Regions from separate parts of the Homo sapiens genome. Here region 1 is linked to region 2. The links are contacts of gene promoters, found by promoter capture Hi-C in blood cells and fetal thymus (Javierre and others, 2016). All regions are on one chromosome and are shown on one strand. Each heading gives the region's core, a stretch centred on a gene start or on the middle of the fragment in contact. The rest is flanking DNA. Distances are from core to core; before and after follow the strand shown.

Evidence for each region. The method cuts DNA at HindIII sites, captures the fragments that hold promoters and counts their contacts. A CHiCAGO score of 5 or more calls a contact.
Region 1: a fragment that was not itself captured here is called in contact with the fragment with the promoter of COPA in region 2 in 3 of 17 cell types (naive B cells, non-activated CD4 T cells and total CD4 T cells); the score reaches 5.5 in naive B cells.

Annotation. Positions count from the first base shown.
Region 1 is chr1:161,745,816-161,753,500 of GRCh38, forward strand. DUSP12 (dual specificity phosphatase 12) reads left to right here and starts at 3,971. Exons shown (of 6, transcript NM_007240.3): 1 at 3,971-4,330; 2 at 5,853-5,966; 3 at 6,051-6,169; 4 at 6,553-6,649; 5 at 7,260-7,446. The coding sequence starts at 3,987. RefSeq lists enhancers at 1,969-2,048, 2,149-2,198, 3,770-4,279, 4,341-4,987. The HindIII fragment of the contact is 1,306 bases long and covers 2,444-3,749 here.
Region 2 is chr1:160,339,941-160,347,131 of GRCh38, forward strand. It overlaps COPA (coat protein complex I subunit alpha), which reads right to left and starts at 3,310. Exons shown (of 33, transcript NM_004371.4): 1 at 3,191-3,310; 2 at 241-354; 3 at 1-42. The coding sequence starts at 3,230. It overlaps NCSTN (nicastrin), which reads left to right and starts at 3,443. Exons shown (of 17, transcript NM_015331.3): 1 at 3,443-3,541; 2 at 4,782-4,886. The coding sequence starts at 3,457. RefSeq lists enhancers at 3,243-4,190, 3,463-3,512, 6,878-6,927. The HindIII fragment of the contact is 9,711 bases long and covers 1-5,076 here.

The DNA.
Region 1 (7,685 bases), core at 1,847-4,346, 1.4 Mb after region 2:
TCACCCAGGCTGGAGTGCAGTGATGCGATCTCGGCACGCTGCAACCTCCACCTCCGGGGTTCAAGGGATTCTCCTACCTCAGCCTCCTGAGTAGCTGGATTACAGGCATGCACCACCATGCCCAGCTAAGGTTTTGTTTTCATTTTTGTTTTTTAGGATGGAGTCTCGCTCTGTTGCCCACGCTGGAGTGCAGTGGCATGAGTTCAAGGGGGTTCAAGTGATTCTCCCGCCTCACCCTCCCAAGTAGCTGGGATTACAGGCGCCTGCCACCATGCCTGGCTAATTTTTGTATTTTTAGTAGAGATGGGGTTTCACCATGTTGGCCAGGCTGGTCTTGAACTCCGGACCTCAGGTAATCTGCCTGCCTTGGCCTCCCAAAGTGCTGGGATTACAGGTGTGAGCCACTGGGCCCCGCCTTTTTTTTTTTTTTTTTTTGTATTTTTAGTAGAGACAGGTTTTCGCCATGTTGGCACGGCTGGTCTCAAACTCCTGACCTCAGGTCATCTGCCAGCCTCAGCCCCACAAAGTGCTGGGATTACAGGCATGAGCCACCGTGCCCGACCTCAAAGATAATCTATGTTGTAGCATGTGACAGAATTTCCCTCTTTTTATATGGCTGAATAATAGTTCATCATATGCATATACCATCTTTCTTTCTTTCTTTCTCTTTTTCTTTCTTTCTTTCTTTTCTTTTTCTCTTTCTTTCTCTCTCTCTTTCCTTCCTTCCTTCCTTCCGTCTTCCTTCCATCCTTCCTTCCTTCCTTCCTTCCTTCTCTCTCTCTCTCTCTTTCTTTCTTTCTTTCCTTTTTGGAGACAGAGTCTCGCTCCATCCCTTAGGCTGGAGTGCAGTGGCATGATCTTGGCTCACTGCAACCTCCGTCTCCTGGGTTCAAGCGAGTCTCCTGCCTCAGCCTCCCGAGTACCTAGGATTACAGGCACCCACCACCATGCCCAGCTGATTTTTGTATTTTTAGTAGAGATAGGGTTTTGCCATGTTGGCCAAGCTGGTCTTGAATTCCTGGCCTCAGGTGATCCACCTGCCTCGGCCTCCCAAAGTGCTAGGATTACAGACGTGAGCCACCGCGCCCGGCCCATACCACATTTTCTTTATCCATTAATCCATGATGGACATTTGGGTTACTTCTACCTTTTTGCTATTGTGAATAATGTTGCCATAAATATGGGTGTGCAAATATCTTTGAGATCCCACTTTCAATTCTTTTGGCTATATAACCTAGAAGTGAGATTGCTGGATCATGTGGTAATTCTATTTTTAATCGTTTGAGGAAACTCCGTACTGTTTTCCCTGGTGGGTGCACCATTTTACATTCCCTTCAGCAATGCATAAGCGTTCCAATTTTTCCACATCCTTGCTAACACTTATTTTCTGTGCTTGAAAAAAATACTAGCCATCCTAATGGGTGTAAGATGATATTATTATTGTAGTTTTGATTTGCATTTCTCTAATGATTAGCAATTTGAGCATCTTTTCCTATGCTTTTTGGCCTCTTGTATATCTTCTTTGGAGGAATGTCTATTCAGGTCGTTTGCCCAGTTTTTTGAAAATTGGGTTACTTGTTTTTCTGTTGTCGAGTTGTAGGAGTTTTTTATATGTTCTGCATATTAACGTATCAGATATATGCTTTGCAATTATTTTTTCCCATTCCATACAAATTCCTTTTCTCTCTATTGACTGTTTTGCTTGATATGCAGACACTTTAAAATTTGATATAGTCCCATTTGTCTATTTTCGCTTTTGTTGCCTGTGCTTTTGGTATTTTATCCAAAAAATTGAGGGAGAAGAAAAGGAAAAATCAGTTAGGTAGACAGCTAAGGCTAGCCCTTGGAGAAGCAGTCTGCCTGAAAAATCACAGCTACAAACAAAATAGAGCAGCTTAGGCAAAACTCAGGCTGCACCTGCACAGATAAGCAGGTAGGGTCCAGCACAGACGCTTTTCATTCTTCGTGTAATTGGCGAGCTCCCAGGAAAAACTTTCCTCCCCTTTTCAGGTATATACACAGTGGACTCCGTGGGAACTTGCACAGGAAGGAGGGGGGCTTACCTAAAACAAACCTACAGTGATACAAACAAGAGAACCCACGCTTTGTGCTTGCCTAGAGACATACCCACATCGGCAGAAGATAAGGGAAGTTGCACAGACAGATTTATTCATAAGAGAAGTTACTCAAACAACTATAGAGATGAGAGGAGTTTCTTATAATAGGTTTTGAATTCAGCTGTAAAAATGGCACCCCACTTGGGCTCCCCTCTCTGCTGTGGAGAGCTTTCTTCTTTTGCTTATTAAACTTTTGCTTCAACCTCACTCTTTGTGCCCATGCTCCTTAGTTTTCTCGGTCGTTAGACAAGTTCGGATAACACCTTAGACAATGAGACCATTAACCCTTACCTGTTTCAACATTTTTATCAAATCCAAGGCCATGAAGCTTTCCCCCTATGTTTTCTACTAAGAATGTTATATTTTTAGGTCTTTAATCTATTTGGAGTTATTTTTTGTGTATGGTCCAAGGTAAAGGTCCATCTTCATTCTTTTGCATGTGGATATCTAGTTTTTCCCAACACTGTTGAGGAGATTGTCCTTTTTCCATTGTGTGGTCTTGGCACTCTTTTTGAAGATTATTCTAACATATATGCAGTGTTGCAGGTGATTAGCAGCTTTCTGGGCTGGTGACATGGGTGGTAGGAAGAATTTACCAACACAGTTGTAGGTAAAGAAAGGCAGGTTTATTAGATAAAGTATGAAAATACATTGCAAGGGTGCAACAGGCAGGTCAGCAAGAGAGAAGCTGACTGCTAGGAAACAAAGGCTTGCTGGGGATTTTGTAGAATGGTGCTTATGTTGTGGGTGGAAGAGGGCTTTGTGCAGTACTAATAATGCCAGGGTTGCAGTGAACTAACTTCCATTTTTCTATCAGCTGAGGGTCTGGTGATGGCTGGGCACAGGCAGATTGTGAGTTATTTGCACAGCAGGGCTATGTGTCCTGGACCACGAAGAAAGGCAGACTTATGGCTTGTCTGCTTTCTCCTTTTGCTTCCCTTCGTCCAGCCAGCCTGACTCCTTTTCCCTAATTAGGACTCCACACGCAAGGGTTTGTTCTGTTCCAGAATAGAGACACGTCGATGTATCTATCTTTATACCAGTACTATAGCTGCTACTTCTTGACCAATTACAGCTTTAGTATCTCTCTCACCTGTCCTCCCTATACAAAAGATATATAAAATATACTCACTGTACTGAGTATCTTCCTGCAGCATTCAGTCTGGAGCAAAGCCTGCTTCCTTCAACCCTTTCCAAAATCCCCAAATAAAAGCCCAAAATCTGTAGAGGATCTTCCTAACATCCTCGTGCTGAGATGCCCTGAAATTCTCCATAACTCATGACTGAGTAATAAAACCAACTTGCTTAATTAAAGTTGGTTTCTTGTAGTCCTGGCCGGAGGACATTGACTTACAAAAATATAGGATTAGTATCTTCAAAATAAATAGACAGTAAACATCAACAAGGATTCACACCCCAATAATGAAATTGGGCAGAAAAAGGAAAAATAATCATGAAATGCACAGTAAAGATGGCTCCATAATATTGAAAAAAATTTTACTTCAAATGCATAAAATGATGCTTCTGATTCAGCTGGTGCGACATTTATTTCACATTTGAGTTCAGCTGCTCCTGATGTCTCTTTCCTGAAAATTTCAATACTAAGAGCTCGAGAAACCCTGTATTTGGGGAAGCTTATCCTTCACCATCAACTTTGGGGGTAGGGGTCAGAGGGAACAAGGGTGGAAAGGCCGCGCTGAATGGGGCCGAAGCTCCGCCCCTCAGCGATAAGTCCAGATTCCTGCGGCCGACGTGGTCCTCCGAGGGAGCAGCAGAGCCGCCGAGGCTGGCGAGTCCCAGGGGAAGGATGTTCTAGCCGGAGTCTACTCGATGGTAGGGCAGGAAGCCGCCTTGTCTCTGGGCGCGGCCATGTTGGAGGCTCCGGGCCCGAGTGATGGCTGCGAGCTCAGCAACCCCAGCGCCAGCAGAGTCAGCTGTGCCGGGCAGATGCTGGAAGTGCAGCCAGGATTGTATTTCGGTGGGGCCGCGGCCGTCGCGGAGCCAGATCACCTGAGGGAAGCGGGCATCACGGCCGTGCTAACAGTGGACTCGGAGGAGCCCAGCTTCAAGGCGGGGCCTGGGGTCGAGGATCTATGGCGCCTCTTCGTGCCAGCGCTGGACAAACCCGAGACGGACCTACTCAGCCATCTGGACCGGTGCGTGGCCTTCATCGGTCAGGCCCGCGCTGAGGGCCGTGCGGTGTTGGTGCACTGGTGAGTGGCCGGGTCAGTGGGTGACGTGCCCCGCCAAGCTTCCAGCCGGCCCCCGTCGCCCCTTACCTTCCGAGGCCGTCGGGAGGACAAGAGCGCGGTCATGCCGCGTGAACCTCCTCCCGCTGCCTCCCGCAGGAGGCGTGTTTCCAAGAGAGGAGGAGGGTTGAGGCGGGCCCCTGGTGTGTGCAGGCTTTCATTCATTCATGCTTTAGTTGGTTCTTCCTGCAGCAGCAGAGGGCGGGGGAGGTGTCATCTGATAAATGACAAATTACCTACACCCTAAGGAGTTTACAGCTCTGTTGGAGAAGCTAGACACCCACCCCGATTATTGTAATGCAGATTAGGTTGCTTGGTGTCTTGTAAACGGGATTTACAAAGATTTAGGGTTAAATGTTTTTGTTTGGGATGGGTGGCGGGTGGTTGATGAAGAGATGAATTGGTTTGGATCTAAAGGATCCCTGGGCTTTGCCTAGGGAGGAGATGGTTGCAGCAAAGACAAAAAGAAAATGGGAATCCCGCAGGGCGCGGTGGCTCACGCCTGTAATCCCAGCACTTTGGGAGGCAGGAGGATCACAAGGTGAGGAGTTCGAGATCAGGCTGGCTAATATGGTGAAACCAAAAATACAAAAATTAGCCGGGCGTGGTGGCTCTCGCCTGTAGTCCCAGCTACTCGGGAGGCTGAGGCAGGAGAATCACTTGAACCTGGGAGGCGGAGGTTGCAGTGAGCCGAGGTCATGCCACAGCACTCCAGCCTGGGCAACAGAGCGAGACTCCATCCCTCCCCCCAAAAAAAGAAAATGGGAATCCCTAAGCAGTTCTTGGTTGGATTGGAGTATAATAATCGTTTAAATTTATTGAGCACATAAAAGAAGATAGTGATGAAATCAAAAGAAGTCTGGGACCAGATTTTGAGGTCCCTGAATGCTAAGATGAAAGGAGATTGGATTTGTTTTTGTTTTGTTTTATTTATTTTTATTTTGATATAGGGTCTTGCTCTGTCACCCAGGCTACAGTGTAGTAGCGTAATTACGGCTCACTGCAGTCTCAACCTCCCAGGCTCAAGTGAACCTCCTGCCTCGGCCTCCAGAGTAGCTGGGACTACAGACCCCACCACATCCGGCTAATTTTTTGTAGAGGTGGGGTCTCACTTTGTTGCCCAGGCTGGTCTCCAACTCTTGGACTCAACCAATCCTCTCACCTCGCCTCCCAAAGTGCTGGGATTTCAGGCGTAGGTAAGCCACTGTGTCTAGCCAGGAGTTTGGATTTGTTCTGAGCCATTATAAAAATTTTAAAAATTACTGTTATTATTTTTGAATAGGTAATAGATTCACGTGGTTCAGAATTCAAAAGGAAAAAGGAATAATTATTTTGTACCTTGATAATATTTCAGAGGCAATGGGCTTATTTGAGAAGCAAAAATGAAGTGGGCCTAAACTTTACTATTAATAGGGGGCTGGGCTTTGTGTGTTTTTTTTTTTAATTGTTGCTATTTGCTGTTTTATTTTAAAGGTCTCTTTTTCAGTCATGCAGGAGTCAGTCGAAGTGTGGCCATAATAACTGCTTTTCTCATGAAGACTGACCAACTTCCCTTTGAAAAAGCCTATGAAAAGCTCCAGATTCTCAAACCAGAGGCTAAGTGGGTTCTTTTTTTATAGTAATAATTATGCTTTTGTGATATAATTTTAAGAAAATGAAACTTTATATTTCTTTATCATTACAGGATGAATGAGGGGTTTGAGTGGCAACTGAAATTATACCAGGCAATGGGATACGAAGTGGATACCTCTAGTGCAATTTATAAGCAATATCGTTTACAAAAGGTTACAGAGAAGTATCCAGGTAAGTAATAATTGCTAGTGTGTAATGGGCTTTCTAGATGACATTTACTTTAGCATTGTATGCTTTACCTTACTTCCAGCAATCCCTGAGAAACTATTGTTTCTTTTTGAAACTGATTTAGCCAGAAATAACCTATTCAAAATCACATGGTTTATAAATGGCAGGGTCAGGATTTGAATTCAGGCAGCCCGTGCCCAGAACCTAAGCACTTAAATCACTGTCCTCTCCTACCTTAGCCTGATTTCTCAACACTGGAATTTGATTTTTTTTTTTTTTTAATTTTTGAGGTTAGCACTTGTTGCCTCAATTTGACATTAACTGAATTTATCTGAAAATGCAGAGTTGATTTTGACAAATAAATACATTTTAATTATGTCATATAGAATTGCAGAATTTACCTCAAGAACTCTTTGCTGTTGACCCAACTACCGTTTCACAAGGATTGAAAGATGAGGTTCTCTACAAGTGTAGAAAGTGCAGGTAAACTATTTTATATCCTTTGGATATTTTATCTTGTCTCAGTAGCTGAAAAGTACTTAATGTTTTATTTTCTTAAATTTCTGTAGGAAGATTTTGTTTAATTGAAATTTTTAGTTCAGATCTGTTTTCAGAAAGAATATAAATTCTTAAAAAGAGAAATAATCAGATTGTAAGGGTTATTGAAAATTTAAGTAGTGTAATCAATGTTACATTATTTTGTTCTCTAAGCAATATTGCACATTTTGCTGGGCGCAGTGGCTCACGCCTGTAACCCCAGCACTTTGGGAGGCCGAGGCAGGCAGATCACCTGAGATTGGGAATTTGAGACCAGCCTGGCCAACATGGTGAAACCCCGTCTCTATTAAAAATACAAAAATTAGTTGGGCATGGTGGCTGGTGCCTGTAATCCCAGCTACTCAGGAGGCTGAGGCAGGAGAATTGGTTGAACCCAGGAGGCGGAGGTTGCAGTGAGCCATGATCACGCCACTGCACTCTAGCATGGGCGACAGAGTGAGACTCTGTCTCAAAAAAAAAAGAAATACCGCACATTTCATCCATGTTTTCATCCTTTTGGAAGTCATTAATGCTTTTGTTTGTTTGGGGGTTGCAGGCGATCATTATTTCGAAGTTCTAGTATTCTGGATCACCGTGAAGGAAGTGGACCTATAGCCTTTGCCCACAAGAGAATGACACCATCTTCCATGCTTACCACAGGGAGGCAAGCTCAATGTACATCTTATTTCATTGAACCTGTACAGTGGATGGAATCTGCTTTGTTGGGAGTGATGGATGGACAGGTGAGAACACATTTTATTTTCTACAATTTTATTTTATGATCTATATTTTATTCCTTCTTGCATTTTAAGCTCTATTTTAACTAGTGTTTTGCTCCATTTCTTAATTTCTTTATTTCTGAAGATTATATCTTTCTAGTGTAGATAAGACTATCAAAAATAAAATATTTTTCAAAAACCAGCTGATCCAACATAGTGAACTACTTCTGGTTGAGAGCCCTGGTCTAAGTTAATAAATTTCC
Region 2 (7,191 bases), core at 2,060-4,559:
ACAGTGGCTGCTGCTTATGGAAGTCAATGCCTCGCACTGGACCTGGTGGAGAAGGCAGGCAATGTATGTTAGACAGAGCTATCCTTTCTAATCTCTAAGGTGATTCCTATTCAGGATTTTTCAGTTCTATCATTTCCACATTCTTTAATCATAGAGGAATCCATGTCAAACAAGGCTTAAAATACCCCAGGATATTATAAATACTTATACTCCTTTAACTTCCTCCTAGAAATATCTCACCATCATGTTCATCAAACTTGTCAATGAGAGTGCACATCCGATAGTCCCATAACTGGATGACCCCATTATGTAAACTAGTCAGGATCCAAGGTCTTTTGGGGTGAAAGCTGAGCCCTGAAAAAAATAGAAAATGATACAATGAGCTAACTAAGCCCCATGATGTCACCTTCTGTCAATTCTGATAAGAAAAAGAAACATCAAGGTTAATCCTAGGTTCATTCATTCGACATGCTTGATGATTTTTTACTGGATGCCAGACATCGTGAATTTTATGTTTGGTACTAGATTTTTGTCATATTCCTTTACATATTCTTGGGCTTTGCTCTAGGATACAATTAAGTTACTTGGAATCAGTTGATCCTTTCAAGGCTTGCTTTTAGGTTTTATTACAGAGGGGCTACAGCAGCCTTCATTCTAGGCTTAATCTGGAACCACTATTAAAGCAATAGCCATCTGAGGTCTCTATTTGAAGCCCTGTAATATTAGGAAGTCTTTCCTTTCTGGCAAGTAGGAACACAAACTAGTCCCAGTTCACTAGTGTGAACTCTGGGGATTGCTCTGCCTTCTCCTTTCCAGTGGTCCTTTTTCAGGTTTTGAATAGTTTTCTCACATGCAGATCAGTACTCAAACAAAGACCTGAGAAGACATCCTGCAGATCTCTAGTGCTCTCTCTCTGCAGCCCCCTCTTCTCCGGTATTTTGCCCAACAAAATCTAGCCATCTTTGCTTCCCCACACTCTAAATTTATGTCTCCTCAGAAAGACCAAGGGATTCCCCTCTTCACTGAAGCCTAAAAACTCTCTAGGCAGTAATCTACGACAATCACAGGACTCACCTTGTTTATTTGCCTTCTCTGGAGAATTATTTTCCTGCACTGCCTGTTGCCCAACATCTGTGAGCAATGTATGAACCTTTGTTTCATACATTTTGTTCAGTTGTATAGTTAAGGTGGGAAGGTAAATCTGGCTCTTGTTATTCTATCATGACTGGAAATGGAAGTCCCCAGAGGTAACAACTACTAACAGTTTGAAGTGTATCCTTTCAGATTTTTAATGCAGTTACACATAGACATAGGCTTTAGTATTTTATGAAAGTGGGGATCACGTTATGATGTTGTTCTGCAAACTTCTTCCTCACTTAACTATATAATATGGATCTCATGGAAGTACATATAAACATAACCTCATTCTTTTTAACTACAAGGGACAAATGTACTACACTTATATTATTCTAACAGGCATTTTGTCCGCCAATTTTTGGCTATCAGAAGAGCCTACTGAAGATACTTCTACACATAATCTAGCCTATTTGCATTATTACTGCCCTAGGCTAAAGACCTGTGAGATTGCTCAGGAATAGAATATGTGCACTTAACATTTTAGTACATATAGTTTAAATGTAAAAACACTGTATCAATATACAGTCTCATGAAGTTTATGGAGGTGCCCATTTTGCACACAGGCTGCTATCAGCTATTTGTTGTTTTGTTTTATAAATCTAAGACCCTCCCCCCAAAAAAGTAACTTAACTTTTTTTTTCTTGCATTTCTTTCATTACTAGTGAGGTGGAACTATTTTAATTATTTATTGAACATTTACAATTTTTCTTCTAAATTGTCTATTTTTCCATTAGGTTCTTTTTTTTAATTATGATATATAAGTACACTCAACAATGGATGTTTGCCCTCAAATATTATGACATCTTTGTTTTTCCTTCTGTACTGCCCAGCAAGAAATTAGGAGCAGAAAAGAAAACTGAAAGATTATGAAGACCCATTTCACATTTCACCTATACAGGTCTCAGAAATTCTTAATGGTACCCATCTTTCAAGGTCAAGTTTCCCAAGAGACTTAGAAACTGCTCAGAATATATTCACACATTGATAACAACCTCCAGTTTTTGAGCTACTGAGTCTACACCAGGCGCTGTAATAAATACACTCCATATACTTTCTCATTTTAATACTCTCTATAAAAGACGATTTTACAGATGAGGAAATACAGACTTAGAGACATTAAGTAAGTCATCCAAGTCACAGCTTGTTAGTGGATGTCTCAGGATTCCAAGGCAAGCCCATCTGACTTCAAAGACCAAGTTCCTAACCACTTTGTTACGCTGCATCTCACTAAATATTCTAGATACTATTTTTTCCAGGTCTTCGGAGACCTTACTTCTCTGACTTTCACATTCTAACGTTCTGAGGCTAATACTGCGATCTCAGTATTTGCCCTCCACCCCCAACGACCCACACTCGAGCTCTAGAGCTGCCGTACTTAGCAAATAAAAATACGAGATTTCCAGATAAATTTGAACTTCTGGTAAGCAACGACAGACTAAAAAACTATTCATTGTTTACCTGAAATTCAAATTTAACTGGGTATCCTGCATTTTATCTGGCAACTCTATCAAGTTGAGACTTTATTGGGGTTATAAGCCTCAAGTACTATTTCCGGGTAGTAAATAAAGCCGAATGGAGGCACTGATGTTGAGATGCTGCAGCCAAGGCCTCCTTAAGTGAGGTTGCCACTACTCGTCTCCAAAAAGGCTACTGACTCGGGTGCGAGTAACAGAGATCGAGACTCAGTTCCCAGGGCCACTCCATATAACACAGTCATCAAAAAGCCAACAGATCACAGGGCCTTTGGAGCAGAACAACACAAATCGGGAGCACAGCCAAGAGAGAAAGGGGGAAGAAAGAATAGGGAGGGGGTCTAAGGAATCCCCTGCAGTGTGGGAGCCACTTTATAGGTAAATCGAAGCCCAAGGACACACCAAAGAAGAGGGGACTGGAGAACCGCTAGCCAGGCCCAACCTCTCTCCCACCCTCCGTCTTCCTCCGGGTCCGTCTGGTGGGCCCATTTCGACCAACACCTCTACCCATTTTCTCTTCCCCGGTGTCAGCGCCGCTCCTGACATCCAACCTCCATGTTCCCCCTTTTATTCTCCACTACCTTTGACCCGCGCGCTCTTGGTCTCGAATTTGGTTAACATCTCTCAGGTCTCCGACTCCGATGTCTTAATCCGAGCCCCGACACACCCTGCTGCCCTTCGGACGCCTCCACGTCAGCGACCCTCTCCCGCGGTTTCCGGAAGCGCCTGGAAACACGAACTTCCGGTCTCTTAGGCTCCGGGCCACAGAGACGGTGTCAGTGGTAGCCTAGAGAGGCCGCTAACAGACAGGAGCCGAACGGGGGCTTCCGCTCAGCAGAGAGGCAAGATGGCTACGGCAGGGGGTGGCTCTGGGGCTGACCCGGGAAGTCGGGGTCTCCTTCGCCTTCTGTCTTTCTGCGTCCTACTAGCAGGTGAGGCCTCCCCGCCCGTGAGCTCCGTTCTCTAAGGGGAACTCTCGGATCGGCCCCGCCGCGACCGCCACTGTCTCCCTTCTGGTTCCTGCTGCCCCTCTGTCCCCCCACCCTGTAAATCCTCTTTCTTTTTCGTTCCCACGACAGAAGTTCCCCCTTTGCCTGGACCTGAAGGTCCCTTCTCCCCCGCAGCACGTCGTGTCGCTTCACTCCCTTCTCTAGGCCTCTTCCTGGACTTCGAGCCTGACCCTCTCCCACTTTGTCCAGATGTCTCGTTTTTCCCACAACCCCAGCCACCCACCCCACAGTCGAAAGGAACAGGTGTGAAAGTTAGCTTTCTTCCTCGCGTTTAGACTTTTTGAGACGAAAGCAATCTTGTTCTGTGGGTGCTGTGCGGCGCTTAAAAGGTGGATTTCTTATTTCTTCCTCTGTTGATTACATCCTAAGTCTGTGTCCCCCTGCCTTGCCTCAGGTTTTTTTTTTTTTTTTTTTTTTAATCAGTAAAGCAAGAATAAGGTAGGATATGGGTACTCTTAACTGTGAAGACCCTGAAGTAACAATTCAAGGAACTTTTGGCATTTATAATGTACTTAAGTGTTTGCTGATACGCGTTCATTTACTGATACATGGCTTTTTAGTTGGTCAAGCCCTAAAATGCAAATGCCTGTATATAACTATGACTGTGCCTTCCCCCAATTCACATTGTTTTTAAGGATCCTCAAAGGAGAAACTACAGCTGCCCCACACTGTGGGCACACAAATGACCTGCTGATGTTAAATTAACTGACCCGTGTATGTCATAAGGTTTCTCTCAATTCTGTTCACACTCTTGGAAAAATGCCTCAGAAAGTTTTCTTAGCCCAGCACCTGTGTATTAACCAATTAGTAATATACATACAGGATATACAAGCAGAAGTGTGATCACCTGTGCAACCAGAATCTGGCAAATCTAAGGTCAAACACCTTTCCTTTGACCAAGTTTTCTCTCTTTTAGTGTCACTGTCAATGGCGCTACATGGACTTTGTAATAACCCTTTGAGGCACATAGCTGGGTGCCATGTAGAACATGTATCTGTTACGATAAGTGTGTGCCCAAGAAATCAGAAGAATGGACTTTAATCTCATTTTAGAAAGTATGATATTAAATGATTTACCCAAGCCATACTTCAGGTTAATGACACGATAGAAGCTAGTACCTGTGTCTCTCAAATTTTTCTAACACTTTTTATCTTCCGATCAGGTTTGTGCAGGGGAAACTCAGTGGAGAGGAAGATATATATCCCCTTAAATAAAACAGCTCCCTGTGTTCGCCTGCTCAACGCCACTCATCAGATTGGCTGCCAGTGTGAGTTGAGATGGATTCATGTTTGTGGACATTGATATTTGTCTGTGCCCTAGATACTAAGTAACATCCATGTCCTGCTTAGGAGATTTGACACTTATATTGGACTGTATGTAGGCAGTTACAGATAACCGTCTGTCAAGCTAGGCAAGATAATTAATAAGAACTAACATTTAGTAAATGCTGCATACCAAGCTTTTTACATGTGCATCTCATACAACCCCAACCACAACCCCACAAAATAGGTCTTACTGTTATTGTCACTTTATAAATGATGAAACTAAAACTTAAAGAAGTTGAGTAACTTTCCCAAGATCATACTGGTAATAAGTGATGATGCCAGGATCTGGTGGCCCGAGCACTAAGCTGAGAGACCTTTTTTTTTTGACACGGAGTTTCACTCTTGTCCCCCAGGCTGGAGTGCAATGGCACGATCTCGGCTCACGGTGACCTCTGCCTTCTAGGTTCAAGTGATTCTCCTGCCTCAGCCTCTTGAGTAGCTGGGATTACATGCACCTGCCACCATGCCCAGCTAATTTTTGTATTTTTAGTAGAGATGGTGTTTCACCATGTTGGCCAGGCTGGTCTCGAACTCTTGACCTCAAGTGATCCACCCACCTTGGCCTCCCAAAATGCTGGGATTACAGGCGTGAGCCACCGCACCCAGCCGAGCCAGCACTCTTAACCACCCTATTATACTGTTTTTTAAGGAGAAAAAAGTCTCATATTCTATGGTGTCCAGTTATCACTTGCACTCTGAACTTTTTGGAACCAAAATGGGCTAAAGGCAATGAACTATCTGAAGAGAAGGCACTGAAAATGCCAAATAGGCTGGGCGCAGTGGCACATGCCTGTAATCCCAGCACTTCAGGAGGTCAAGGCGGGTGGATCACTTGAGGTCAGGAGTTTGAGACCAATCTGCCAGCATGGTGAAACCCCCCCATCTCTACTAAAAATACAAAAATTAGCCGGCTGGCTGCTATGGCATGCCTGTAGTCCTAGCTTCTCGGGAGGCGGAAGCAGAAGAATCCCTTGAGCCCAGGAGGCGGAGGTTGCAGTGAGCTGAGATTGTGCCACCATACTCCAGTATAGGTGACAGAGTGAGACACTGTCTGAAAAAAAAAAAAAAAAAAAAAAAGAAAATGCTGAATAATTGCAAGAGGAATTAGTGAAGCATTCTATTTATCCTTTTTTAAAACTTTTTTTCCTTAAATTCAACTGACAGGCCGTTTATTTTCACACTTTGTGTGTTCCAAAAGAAGGTTCCATGACACTGTGGCTTTAAAAACTATCAAAATCATAGGGCAGGAAAAGTAGTAATCTAAAGGCTAACCTGCTGTCTTCAGATTTTGTTTCCCATGGACAATAGCTCTGTCAGAATGTAGTTTTGCAGATAAGCAGGAAACTTGGGGTCTGATACTGGCTTCTTCATCATCAAATTGATCACCTCTGAATTTCAGTTTACCCCTGGAATAATGGTTGGAGTACTTGCATAAAGCTGAAAGTCAAATACCTCTTAATAGTTGTTTATTGATGACGCTAGGTAAATAGGGTGGTCTCAAAAGTGCTGTATAATTTCCTGAAGCCTTCTTCCCATTTGATAAGAGAAAACTGGGACACTGAGAAGTGAAGGACTTGTTCGTGGAAGCAGTTACTACTTTTTTAGCCATCTTTCCCTGAGCTATAGTATCTGTTAATTGTCCCATGTCCCTGCTATACAAAGCACTGGGAGTAGGTTGACTGGTTCCAAACAGCCCCAAATAAAGTTTTTGTTGTACTTAGTTTCTTTTTTTTTTTTTTGAGATGCAGTCTCGCCCTCTCGCCCAGGCTGGAGTGCAATGGCACAATCTCAGCTCACTGCAACTTCCTCCTCCCAGGTTAAAGCAATTCTCCTGTCTCAGCTTCTTGAATAGCTGGGATTACAGGCGCGTGCCACCGTGCCCAGCTAATTTTTTGTATCTTTAGTAGAGGCGGGGCTTCACCATGTTGGCCAGGCTGGTCTCGAACCCCTGACCTCGTGATCTGCCCGCCTTGGCCTCCCAAAGTGCTGGGATTACAGGCATGAGCCACCATGCCCAGCCCTCTGGACTTAGTTTCTGAACTGGTTTGTAGGTAGAAGAGAGCTAGGTCCAGGGTGGGCTGAGATCAGACTGCTGGTCTTGCTGGAACCTCACTATAAAGTACAGAAGGCCAGGACCCCAACCTCTTGTAACTAGGCTCTAAGAAAACTCCTTTGGGAATAAGTCATTCTACTCTATGTTCTTAAAACAGCTCTGTAGGAAGCAAAGCCTCTAGAGGTAAAGCCACG